3 separate regions of the Homo sapiens genome follow, and all the other regions are linked to region 2. The links are contacts of gene promoters, found by promoter capture Hi-C in blood cells and fetal thymus (Javierre and others, 2016). All regions are on one chromosome and are shown on one strand. Each heading gives the region's core, a stretch centred on a gene start or on the middle of the fragment in contact. The rest is flanking DNA. Distances are from core to core; before and after follow the strand shown. Region 1 holds the start of VWA8 (von Willebrand factor A domain containing 8). Region 2 holds the start of DNAJC15 (DnaJ heat shock protein family (Hsp40) member C15). Region 3 holds the start of TSC22D1 (TSC22 domain family member 1).

What was found. Contacts are between HindIII fragments. The CHiCAGO score rates a contact against its expected background, and 5 or more counts as called.
Region 1: a contact is called between the fragment with the promoter of VWA8 here and the fragment with the promoter of DNAJC15 in region 2, in 2 of 17 cell types (activated CD4 T cells and fetal thymus). The highest score is 6.8, in activated CD4 T cells.
Region 3: the fragment with the promoter of TSC22D1 here is called in contact with the fragment with the promoter of DNAJC15 in region 2 in 11 of 17 cell types (non-activated CD4 T cells, monocytes, total CD4 T cells and 8 more); the score reaches 11.8 in non-activated CD4 T cells.

The regions. Positions count from the first base shown.
Region 1 is chr13:41,959,774-41,963,888 of GRCh38, reverse strand. VWA8 (von Willebrand factor A domain containing 8) reads left to right here and starts at 2,780. Exons shown (of 45, transcript NM_015058.2): 1 at 2,780-3,036. The coding sequence starts at 2,874. It overlaps VWA8-AS1 (VWA8 antisense RNA 1), which reads right to left and starts at 2,720. Exons shown (of 4, transcript NR_039974.1): 1 at 1,655-2,720. RefSeq lists a silencer at 2,701-3,110 and enhancers at 3,311-3,450, 3,546-4,046, 4,047-4,115. The HindIII fragment of the contact is 5,183 bases long and covers 2,268-4,115 here.
Region 2 is chr13:43,020,535-43,024,877 of GRCh38, reverse strand. DNAJC15 (DnaJ heat shock protein family (Hsp40) member C15) reads right to left here and starts at 1,292. Exons shown (of 6, transcript NM_013238.3): 1 at 1,144-1,292. The coding sequence starts at 1,251. RefSeq lists enhancers at 794-843, 1,354-1,403, 1,414-1,473. The HindIII fragment of the contact is 4,162 bases long and covers 1-2,102 here.
Region 3 is chr13:44,573,812-44,577,873 of GRCh38, reverse strand. It overlaps TSC22D1 (TSC22 domain family member 1), which reads left to right and starts at 1,544. Exons shown (of 3, transcript NM_183422.4): 1 at 1,544-4,062. The coding sequence starts at 1,800. TSC22D1-AS1 (TSC22D1 antisense RNA 1) reads right to left here and starts at 1,978. Exons shown (of 3, transcript NR_038381.1): 1 at 1,604-1,978; 2 at 697-832. RefSeq lists silencers at 82-281, 552-791, 802-1,511 and an enhancer at 1,832-2,071. The HindIII fragment of the contact is 6,017 bases long and covers 1-4,062 here.

The DNA.
Region 1 (4,115 bases), core at 1,531-4,030, 1.1 Mb after region 2:
TTAAAACAAAACACCTTTGGTTCTTCTTTAAAAACATTGTGAAGGTCCATTCTTTCCCATTCAGTCTCATTGCCATCAGCACTGTTCATCATTTCAAGTAGAGACTATTTTTACTGCCACGTAGCTAGCACTTGATGCTTCCTGTCTTCCTAATTCAATTCATAGTATGTCACCACCTAAAACACGATCAAAAAGTCCAGTAGCTGCCCAGTTTGCTCATCGGATGAAGTCCAACTTCATCCAGCTACTCAAGATTCTTCACTCTGTAACCTTCTCCTCCTGCTCTGCCAACACCTTCTACTACTTTCGAAAGATTAACCTCCTCATCTGGCTGGTCTCATGGCCCCTGTAACTGAACTCTGTCAGGACTCCAAGCCTCTACTTAGGCTCTATACCCCGCTTCTCTGTGTATCCAGTCCTAAATGGCATTCAAAGTTAAGCTCAGGTGCTGCCTTTTCTCAGGCTCAAAGTTTTCCTCCCCATTGTAGCTTTGTCACTCTAAAAAACCTTCACCATTTTTCCATTTCCTGGAGGTTAATGTGCAAACTCCTTCTCTTGGCATACAACATGGCCCCAGATTCTCTTTCTGGTCTTATTCTTACAAACTGTTGTATATACTTGACCTCTAGACACACTGAATCACTCTCTGGTTCTCAATCATGCCCTGCACTTTCAGCTGTTTCTTTCTCTCTCTCTCTGTACATGATCTGTCTGCCAGATTTGACTTGTCTCAGCCTGACAAACTCTTGTATAATATATCCTACATGAATCATTTCAAACACTACCTTCTCTGTGAAGACTCCAGGTGCAGCAATCCACTCCACAGTATGTTGAACCTAAATCTCTTGACACGTGTCTCACTGTATTGCAATTCTTTATTTGCATATTTATCATCAATACCTAATGTGAGCCCATTGATTCACAGTATCTAGCAGGGTACTGTTTATACAGCAGTTACTCAATAAATGTTGTCGTTGGGAGGCTGAGGCAGGAGGATCACTTGAGGCCAGGAGCTTGAGACCAGCCTGGGCAACATAACAAGACTCCACTGCTACGAAAACAAAAACACAAAAATTAGCCAGGCACAGTGGTGCACGCCTGTAGTCTCAGCTACTAGGGAGGCTGAAGCAGGAGGATCACTCGAGCCCAGGAGTTCGAGGTTGCAATGAGCTATAATACTGCCGCTGCACCCCAGCCTGGGCAACAGAGTGAGACTTTGTCTCTAAAAAAAATAAAACTAGGCAAAAAATGTTGTTGAATGCTCTAACTTGTGTTGATCTCTCCATTGTCTTAACTCCAAGAGCTCTTAGTGCTTATATCAACCACTTTGCAAAATTGCCTTAGGTTGTTCTCCCATTCTTTCAGGTGTCTACTGAGTTCCAGCGAGATTAAATGGAGATATCTTGACCAAGGTATTCAATTCTTCTAGCCTCAGTTTCTTCATCTGTAAAACGGAGGATAATAATAGTACCTCAAAGCATTTTTATGTGAAATGGGATAATTCATTAAAATCTTGATACATACAATGTGCTCAAAGTAGGAAAAGCATTTTATAAGCTTACATCCTAAATTTATGTCTTAGGGTTGCTATGAGGATTAAATGAGAAGATACACATGAAACGAAGTCATAATATATTGTGTAACTACTTATTACCTTTATTTTCACTGTCTCCTCATCTAGGTTAGAAGCCTGGTTCAGCCTTCATTCCTCAAGTTCTTCCGCTGGATGCCCAAAGCCTTCCTTACCTAGCCTTGTTTGACTTTTACAGTCTCCACTCTAACACTCTCTTCTCAGCACTCATCACAGGGTCAGGCGCAGGGTAGGTGCTATGTATTTAGACAGTGGCAGCTCTAGAATTAGCAAGGTCTTTAGCTGAAAGTGAGGTCTTCTGCCTTCTTTTTGATGTTTGCTTGTATAACTTGTCTCAAATATTTTGCCTTAGTCAATTCACTGTGACATTTTGGGGATGCAGTCTAATTACATTAGGCTTAGTTTGCTTTGTGGTAGGACCATTTCCGATGTTGGAATGTACAAGAGGGAGGCAGCCTTAGCCAGTGTCCTACTTTTTCCTTTACTAAAGACATAAATCATCTTTATATAACTTTTGTATTACAGCATGACTAGAAAAGTGCTTGATCTGGATCCTTTCTGATATTTAAGCAATTTCCATCTATCACTAAGATGTGAATTTTTTCCTTAGAATTTAGGAAGCGGTAATAAAACACAGAAACAAACAACCACCACCAAAAGGACAAAGGGTAAAGCTTTCACGTACGGTTTGGAAACACTAGTGTGGTTACAATGAATCAAGACAGTTGTGAAAGTTCCCATCATCTTGTGCATGTTTTCTCCATTTCCGAAATCTGAAGCCGAATACAGGGAAAGCTCCCTATACTTACTGGGCCTTTAACTAAGAAACGAAGACTTGGGGCAAGCATCTGAAGAGTCACACCGACAAATGCTCCTAAAACCCTTGGCATTTACTGAACTCCTGAGATTCTGTGGGATCGCAGGGAAACGGCGGGTGAAGGCCTGGTGCATCCAGGTGAACAGACAGTCTCACGGACTGCGAGGCGCTTGCCAGAGCCCAGCGCCGCAGCTCGGAGCACCCCCGCGGTGCGGGCAGTCCCGGGACGGTGCCGGCTCTTTGGGCTGGAGCTCCGCAGGCTCTTTCCGCCCGTCTGGGCCATGCAGGGCCGGGTAGGGCCGGGCTGAGTCTACTGAGCCGGCCGCGCCGCGGGGGAAGGAGTTTCCGGCGGACTCGGCTAGGTGCCGCTTCCTGTCCCCTTCTCCGCGCTGCCTCACGGTGCCTGCACGGGACGCCGCTCGATCCCCGAGCCCCCTCGCCGTCCCCGACAGCCCCCCCGGCGCCATGCAATCCCGGCTTCTACTCCTCGGGGCACCCGGAGGCCACGGCGGCCCGGCCTCGCGGCGCATGCGGCTGCTCCTGCGGCAGGTGGTGCAGCGCAGGCCGGGTGGCGACAGGCAGCGGCCGGAGGTCAGACTGTTGCACGCCGGCTCGGGGGCCGACACAGGTAACTCGGGGTGCGCCCCTGTCCTCCCTGGTGCCCCTGCGCTCCGTGCCGGGTCCCCGCGCGCCCCCGCCCCTCCTCTCTGTTGCTTCGCTGCGCTTGGAAGGACCGTTTGCCGAGCGGGGAGCTGAAAGATTGAGGTTCTAGTCCCGACCTCGGCGCTAACTGCTGTGTAACGTGGGGGCAAGGCGCTCGCCCTCTCTGTGCCTGATTCTGCAACCCGAGGGGTCTGGACTAAGGTTTCTGATGACCTAGAAGAGTGATTTCTCCTTCCCCTGCCGCTGCCTTTACCCCCAGAATTCTGACTTAGGTTATAATACTCGTAGAGGTTAATGCCTCAGCCCTATGGAATTATTGAAAGCTGGATTTGACCTTGCTCTCTGAGCCTCAAGGGCCTGGAAGCCGGTCTGTGTCATGTTCTAGCCAGGGCTTGTGGCGGCTTAGAAGGGAACATTCTTGCCAAAGAACCCATAGTTCACGGTGTTTTAAATGCATCCCCGAGCCTTTCCAAGTTTTACAGGAGTTTTCCTTAAAGTTTCACGTAATTCTTAGAGCTGACAGTTACACCTTAATTTAGTTAAAACACTTGCCTCTACAAATGAGGTAATTGAAACCCAGAAGGGAAAAGTGATTCGCTGGAGAACACACAACTAATTACTATGCTAGAATCACATGCTTTGATTTCTAAGCTCAGTATTTTTTGGCTCTACTTGAGCTGGTTTTAGGAATTCTTTTTCTTGTGTGTTGGTGGAGTTAGAGTTACTGTGATGGTTAAGGAAAGGATATCTGTTGTTGCTACCCTTGAATGGTGAAGTGATTCCAGACAAGATTTTGTCAATGTCAGTGCTGCTTGGAATAACAGGTTTTCACTATGAAATTGTAGGTTTCGTTGTCCTCTTGCATTTTCCCCGCAACCCCCAGTTTTCCTTGCTAAGAAATGAGCATATGGGCCGGGCGCGGTGGCTCACGCCTGTAATCCCAGCACTTTGGGAGGCTGAGGCGGGCGGATCACGGGGTCAGGAGATCGAGACCATCCTGGCTAACACGGTGAAACCCCCGTGTCTACTAAAAAGAAAATACAG
Region 2 (4,343 bases), core at 43-2,542:
CCTGTGTTGCCCAGGCTGTCCTCCAAACTCATGGCCTCAAGTGATCCTCCTGCCTGGGCTTCCTAAAGCGCTGGGATTACAAGCCTAAACCACCACTTGGGCAATATTTCATATTGAATGTTGAAAATTACCATGCAACTGTGCATATATCAGGTTAAAGAAAATACATGGTTAAAATCAAACCCACCTGTTTCTCTTCAGTTGTTTAATATGGCTACAAAAAACTTAAAAATATGCCGGACGCGGTGGCTCACGCCTGTAATCCCAGCACTTTGGGAGGCCGAGGCGGGCGGATCACGAGGTAAGCAGATCGAGACCATCCTGGCTAACACGGTGAAACCCCCGTCTCTACTAAAAATACAAAAAATTAGCCGGGAGTGGTGGCAGGCGCCTGTAGTCCCAGCTACTTGGGAGGCTGAGGCAGGAGAATGGCCTGAAACCGGGAGGCGGAGCTTGCAGTGAGCCGAGATCGCGCCACTGCACTCCAGCCTGGGCGACAGAGCGAGACTCCGTCTCAAAAAAAAAAAAAAAAAAAAAAAACGTAAAAATACGTATGTGGCTCACAATATGCTTCTGTTGGACAGTTTTCTGTTAGACCCTTCCTTTTTCCAGCTCTACAGTTCATCCTGAATACACCACTTGGAGTTTCCAACTGGGCCCTGTTTCTGTGCCGGAGACTTTGGAGACAGTAGTCCTGGTACCCGAAACACTTTTTCCCCTTCTCCTTGCTGAATGGACTGTTTTTATTCATTCAGATCTTAATTTTTAACTACAGCTTTCTCCAAGAAGCGTCCCTGATCCCACCACGTCCCCTGCAAGACGTTTTTAGGGCCTCCTATGAGATAGGAAAATCCACATACAGCACTTATTTTACTGTATTTGCAATTGCCTGTTTTCTGGTTTGTGTCCCAGACAAGACTGGAAGCTCCTTGAGGAGACAGATCCTCAGAACTGCTCCGTCTTCCACGCCCAGGCGTCAAAGCCCAGCACAAAGCGGTCTCTCCACTGAACAAGTGAGCGCTAGGGCACAGACCGTGAGCGAATGCGGGGGAGTACAAAGGTTCAAGGGTGAGGCGGTAGAGGGGGCTGAAGCAGAAACTACAAGGGAGCCAGAGAGGGGTGGGGGCCGCTGGCAGGACTCACCAGTCTCTGCTGGTCGACGTCGGCGTCTGGCCGTTTGGCCGAGGGCTGCAAGTACTCAGCGTAGCGCAAACTCTCGCCAACTGGAGCGATGACACCACGGGCAGCCATGGCAAGGCGGCCCGGAGACTCAAGGCGCCGCGGCAGTGACTACGAGGCGGCCGTAGGGACAAACTAGTTAGCGCGGTTTCTTCTCGCAGATCCAGTGGACTCTGCGCTCGTTGTGCTATTAAAGGCGAGGTTCCCGGAAGATACCCTTCTCACCCGAGCTGGGTAACGTGTCCCGTGCAAGCACGGGGTCACACTCCGAAAGGAGCCAAGGGCACTGGGACGTTCTTGAATCACACTCACAGGCGCAAAGCCAACGCGGACCCTCAGGGAGCTTTATATACTTGGGCCTGGTCCCTCCCCAGGCCGCCGTAAGGGACTGGGCTTAAGCCCTGCGAACTGATGTTGGTCGAATCAGATGACTGCCCAGTAAGCTCGGAGTCTAGCTGTAGTGCCTGAGGGTGGGCTTGCCTGAGCTTTCCTGACCCCCTTCCGGGCAGCCTTTCTTCCCACTCTCAACTTCTGTTCGCACTTCTGTTTAATGCCACAGTTCTACCACCCCGGGAGAGAAATTAAAGAGGCAATTTGCTTACTCCACCCCCAAGTAAATGGCTGTATTTAAGGTGAAATTACACAGAAGAAAGTTGTGGCCGGGTGCGGTGGCTCACGCTGTAATCCCAGCACTTTGGGAGACCGAGGCGGGTGGATCACACCAGCTTGGCCGACATGGTGAAACCTCGTCTCTACTAAAAATACAAAGATTAGCTGGGTGTGGTGGTGCGTCCCTGTAATCCCAGCTACTCAGGAGCCTGAGGCAGGGGAAAAAAAGTTGTGAGCAAGTAGGTAAATCTTACTCTCCCTCAAATGAGTTTGTGCTGATTTGTATATATAAAAGCCCATTTTATTATTAAGCTTTTTTTTTTTTTTGAGATGGAGTCTCGCTCTGTTGCCCAGGCTGAGTGCAGTGGCGCAATCTCTGGCTCACTGCACCCTCTGCCTCCCGAGTACCTGGGATTAAAGGCACGTGCCACCACACCTGGCTAATTTGTGTATTTTTAGTAGAGACGAGGTTTCACCATGTTGGCCAGGCTGGTCTCAAACTCCTGACCTCAGGTGATCCGCCCGCTTCAGCCTCCCAAAGTGCTGAGATTACAGGCGTGAGTCACCGCGCCTGGCCTCCATCAAGTTTTTAGAGCAAAAATTAACCAGCAGTTGAAGCGTATGGTGTTTTCCAACTTCTGTACCAACGTGGCAGCTCTTTGGCTCCTTATACCCTTTGCAAAATCAGCTGACAGGAAGAAAAAGCTTTATTTTTTTTCTATTCCTGAATTTAAAGTTTTGAGGGTCTATTAATTTGTTCACTTAGTTAATATTATTAGCATGTCTAAGAAGTTAGGTCCTAGAAATTTACAATCTTGTAGGGAAGATAACACTGACACAGAATAATAGTACATACCAGAACATGAGCACATGCATTGCATAGCAGTATAAAGAGAACTGGACTGGGAATTAAACCGCCATTGCAAAATTACAACTGAGAAAGAGATCTGACCTAATCAACACCATCTTGCTTCTAACCTCCAAGCTGTCTTGTACATTCCTGGCCGTAGGCCAAACTAACTTTGGGAGGAATGTAATTCATAGTTTATAGTTTGAAACAAAGATGATAAAAGCCCTTTCCCAAAACAAACCTCCTTCTTGCCTGGGGACTAGACTGCCTTTGTAGGACTAACAAATTAGCCACAAGATCAGAAATTATGACTTAGGAGTCATGCAGCTGGAGGCTACAAGATTCTGACCCTCCCCAAATTGCTGCTGGAGCTAACATCACTATTGTAAAAACTACCACCAGTGCTTGAGATATTTTGCAGACCCCGCACTTGATGAATCAGCTGGCATCACCCAGATCGATAAACTGGCTCATCTGATCTCGTGGCCCCCACCCAGGAACTGATAACGCAAGACAACTTGGACTCCCTGTGATTTCATCTTTGACCTGACCAATCAGCACTCCCAGCTCACTGGCTTCCCCCTACTCACCGAGTTGTCCTTAAAAATTCTGATCCCCAGCTGGGCGCGGTGGCTCATGCCTGTAATCCCAGCACTTTGGGAGGCCGAAGGTGGGTGCATCATGAGGTCAAGAGAGTGAGACCATCCTGGCCAACATGGTGAAATCCCATCTCTACTAAAAATACAAAAATTAGCTGGGCGTGGTGGGTGCCTGTAGTCCCAGCTACTCGGGAGGCTGAGGCAGGAGAATCGCTTGAACCTGGGAGGCAGAGGTTGCAGTGAGCAGAGATCGCGCCACTGCACTCCAGCCTGAGGACAGAGTGAGACTCCGTCTCAAAAAAATAATAATAATAAATAAATAAATAAAAAATTCTGATCCCTGAATGCTCTGGGAGACTGATTTGAGTAATAATGAAACTCCAGTCTCCTGCACAGTCAGCTCTGCATGAATTACTCTTTCTCTATTGCAATTACCCCGTCTTTATAAATTTGGCTCTGTCTAGACAGCCAGCAAAGTAAACCCATTGGGTGGTTACAGGAATAAGGAAGACATCTGAGTTCTAGTGTACCTCCATTATTTTCTGGGCTTGTATAACTGAACATATCCATTAACCTCTCCAAATTACCTGTAAAAGGAGAATAACATTTGTCCAACATTCTGACTCAGGGAAGTTGTGCAAACAAATATAAACCTCAAAGAACCAATCCTTCAAGATGGATCCCAAGTGGCTAACTAGGACTAACTTAAAATAGAGCCAAACCTTCCTTTTACACTGAAATCTGTGGCTCTCAGGTTTGCAAACTGTTTATTGGGATAGTCTCTCTCCTCTAAATTCCTTTTCAGAGAACTTTTCATTTACATAGGGATAAAAAAGAAAACGACAGGATATGGAAGCAACTTGTATAATGCACTTATGAAAAGAATTACAACCATAGTGCTCTTGGACTTTACAGGAGGGAATGGCCACTTTTAACAGGGGTCATCAGAGAGGTTTAGTGAAGGCTTAGCCATTGAGATGAGGTAAAGAATGGGTAACATTTCTTTAGATGGAAGAGAGGAAATGCCAGAAATTTCAACTGGAAACAAATGGAAGGAAATGAAAAACACTGATTTATAGGACTGGGTAAAAAATATTCCAGGACTC
Region 3 (4,062 bases), core at 295-2,794, 1.6 Mb before region 2:
TGTTGCTGCGGAGAAAAGCCTCATTACCCATTCCGCAGGCGGGGGACACCACCCAAGGCGCGCACACCAAGCGCCGGCGCTCCCGCCGCCTCCGCCGGCCCTTCCGCGCCGCGCCCCCTCCTCTGCCGCGTGCCCGCGCGCGCCGGCCGCGAGTGTGAAAAGAGCGGACACACCTAACCTGGGCGCGCGGCAGGCGCGCACCCTGCCCGCCCCCACCGGGCCGAATCACGCAGTCCGACCCGGATTCGCTCCTTCGGCCGGAATTCCCCACCCCCACTATCCCCTCCGGCTCCACCACTCCCGGCTTCGGCGCCTCTGCCAGCCTTCGGTAATTTCCGTCGGGAGACCTGGCGCTCGCCTAGGCCCGAAGACCCGCCGCCTCCTGCCCCGCCAGACCCGGCTTTATGTCTGCGGCGCCGAGGCGCATGCGCAGACGCCATCTTCCCTCCTCCTCCTCCGCCTGCCCCCTCCCCCCAGCCACCACCGCCTCCTCTCGCCGGCGGTCGCCCCTCCTCCTCCTGCGCTCCGCGCTGGTCCCTCCCCTCCCGATGCCGCGAGAGACTGGGGGATACGGTGGAGCCGGGGGAGCCGAAGAAGAGCACTAGTAACAACCACCACAGCCCCCTCCCCGCCCGACACCCTCCCTCGGCACCCACTCACTCCCCCGCCCCGTTTGCCGACACCGACCAACCCCACCTCGTTCCTTTGAACGGCGTCGGCTGCAGTCGCTGCACCAGCCCGTCTGGCCACCAACGCCGCGGAGAAAGGAGCCGCCGCCGCCTGCGGCCCTCTCCCGCCCGGTCGCGGGAGCAGCGGGGTGAGGAAGAGCCGGCTGCGGAGGAAGAGGATAAGAGAGGGTCGCACCCTCCGCCCTAGCGCACGTCCCGCCGCCCTCCGGAGAGGCTCGGGTGCCGGCCCCTTCCTCCCCGAGGACGTGTGCCGAGTCGAGGCGCCTGCCCTGAGGGAGGAAAATGCTCGGGCTCCATGGCTGCCAGTGATGGAGCGGTCCCTGGGCTCCCGCTGCCACCGCCGCCGCCGCGCCCCGGCCGTGCTCCGCGAGGACCCGGCGTCTCTGCGCGCCCGCCCGCGCCTCGTTGCTGGGCTCACCGTACCGGGCGCCTCGCCGCCGCCCCGCTCGCAGCCGCGTCGCCCCGGCCCCAGCCGCGGCCAGCGTTTCCTCACCGAGCAGCCGCCGCGAGCCCAGGGGGTTTGAAAGGGTCTGCGGGGCGCGGGGGGAGGGCCGAGCGGGGCCGGGAGGGGAGGTTTGAGCGACACTGAGCTCGGGGCTCGCTGGCGGCGGCGGCGGCCCCGGGGGTGGCGAGGGGAAGGCGACATTTGCTTGGCGCTGCCTCCGTGCAGAGCGGCCGGGAGGGCTTTGCAGCGGCCGCCGACGCGGCGGGAGGAGGGGGCTGAGGCGGCTTCGGAGTTGGCCGGAGAAGGTGGGCATTTCTCGCTTTTCCTCCCCTTCCTGCGCTCTCCCCCTCCCTCCTGCCCCGCACCCCACGTGAAGCAGAATATAAAGGGGGGTGTGAGGCTAGAGGGGAAAGTGAATGGCGAAGGACTGAAGGGATCCCCCCTTCGGGTCCCCGGCCGCCCTGTTCACCCTCGTTCATCCTCCTTTCCGAAGCTCGCTCTCGAAGGCAGGAGCGACCGGCGCCTTTGGCTGAGGAGGAGGAGAAGGAGGAATCGCGCCAGGCGGAGCGTCAGGTCCCGTTTTCCTCTCCGGCGTCTCCAATACAAAGATTACGGTGCAGAAGGAAATTGCACTCGTCTCCTCCGCGCCCCCGGTACCCAACACAATGCACCAGCCGCCTGAGTCCACCGCCGCGGCCGCCGCCGCTGCAGACATTAGCGCTAGGAAGATGGCGCACCCGGCAATGTTCCCTCGAAGGGGCAGCGGTAGTGGCAGCGCCTCTGCTCTCAATGCAGCAGGTACCGGCGTCGGTAGTAATGCCACATCTTCCGAGGATTTTCCGCCTCCGTCGCTGCTTCAGCCGCCGCCCCCTGCAGCATCTTCTACGTCGGGACCACAGCCTCCGCCTCCACAAAGCCTGAACCTCCTTTCGCAGGCTCAGCTGCAGGCACAGCCTCTTGCGCCAGGCGGAACTCAAATGAAAAAGAAAAGTGGCTTCCAGATAACTAGCGTTACTCCTGCTCAGATCTCCGCTAGTATCAGCTCTAACAACAGTATAGCAGAGGACACTGAGAGCTATGATGATCTGGATGAATCTCACACGGAAGATCTCTCTTCTTCGGAGATCCTTGATGTGTCACTTTCCAGGGCTACTGACTTAGGGGAGCCCGAACGCAGCTCCTCAGAAGAGACCCTAAATAACTTCCAGGAAGCCGAGACACCTGGGGCAGTCTCTCCCAACCAGCCCCACCTTCCTCAGCCTCATTTGCCTCACCTTCCACAACAGAATGTTGTGATCAATGGGAATGCTCATCCACACCACCTCCATCACCACCATCAGATTCATCATGGGCACCACCTCCAACATGGTCACCACCATCCATCTCATGTTGCTGTGGCCAGTGCATCCATTACTGGTGGGCCACCCTCAAGCCCAGTATCTAGAAAACTCTCTACAACTGGAAGCTCTGACAGTATCACACCAGTTGCACCAACTTCTGCTGTATCATCCAGTGGTTCACCTGCATCTGTAATGACTAATATGCGTGCTCCAAGTACTACAGGTGGAATAGGTATAAATTCTGTTACTGGCACTAGTACAGTAAATAATGTTAACATTACTGCTGTGGGTAGTTTTAATCCTAATGTGACAAGCAGCATGCTTGGTAATGTTAATATAAGTACAAGCAATATTCCTAGTGCTGCTGGTGTGAGTGTTGGGCCTGGAGTTACCAGTGGTGTTAATGTGAATATCTTGAGTGGCATGGGCAATGGTACTATTTCTTCCTCTGCTGCTGTTAGCAGTGTTCCTAATGCAGCTGCAGGGATGACTGGGGGATCGGTTTCAAGTCAGCAGCAACAACCAACAGTTAACACTTCGAGGTTCAGAGTTGTGAAGTTAGATTCTAGTTCTGAGCCCTTTAAAAAAGGTAGATGGACTTGCACTGAGTTCTATGAAAAAGAAAATGCTGTACCTGCTACAGAAGGTGTGCTGATAAATAAAGTGGTGGAGACTGTAAAGCAAAATCCGATAGAAGTGACTTCTGAAAGGGAGAGCACTAGTGGGAGTTCAGTGAGCAGTAGTGTCAGCACACTGAGTCACTATACAGAGAGTGTGGGAAGTGGAGAGATGGGAGCCCCTACTGTGGTGGTGCAGCAGCAGCAGCAGCAACAACAACAACAACAGCAACAACCAGCTCTCCAAGGTGTGACCCTCCAACAGATGGATTTTGGTAGCACTGGTCCACAGAGTATTCCAGCAGTTAGTATACCACAGAGTATTTCTCAGTCACAGATCTCACAAGTACAATTACAGTCTCAAGAACTGAGCTATCAGCAAAAGCAAGGTCTTCAGCCAGTACCTCTGCAAGCCACTATGAGTGCTGCAACTGGTATCCAGCCATCGCCTGTAAATGTGGTTGGTGTAACTTCAGCTTTAGGTCAGCAGCCTTCCATTTCCAGTTTGGCTCAACCCCAGCTACCATATTCTCAGGCGGCTCCTCCAGTGCAAACTCCCCTTCCAGGGGCACCACCACCCCAACAGTTACAGTATGGACAACAGCAACCAATGGTTTCTACACAGATGGCCCCAGGCCATGTCAAATCAGTGACTCAAAATCCTGCTTCAGAGTATGTACAACAGCAGCCAATTCTTCAAACAGCAATGTCCTCCGGACAGCCCAGTTCTGCAGGAGTAGGAGCAGGAACAACAGTGATTCCTGTGGCTCAGCCACAGGGTATCCAGCTGCCAGTGCAGCCCACAGCAGTCCCAGCACAACCTGCAGGGGCATCTGTCCAGCCTGTTGGCCAGGCTCCGGCAGCAGTGTCTGCTGTACCTACTGGCAGTCAGATTGCAAATATTGGTCAGCAAGCAAACATACCTACTGCAGTGCAGCAGCCCTCTACCCAGGTTCCACCTTCAGTTATTC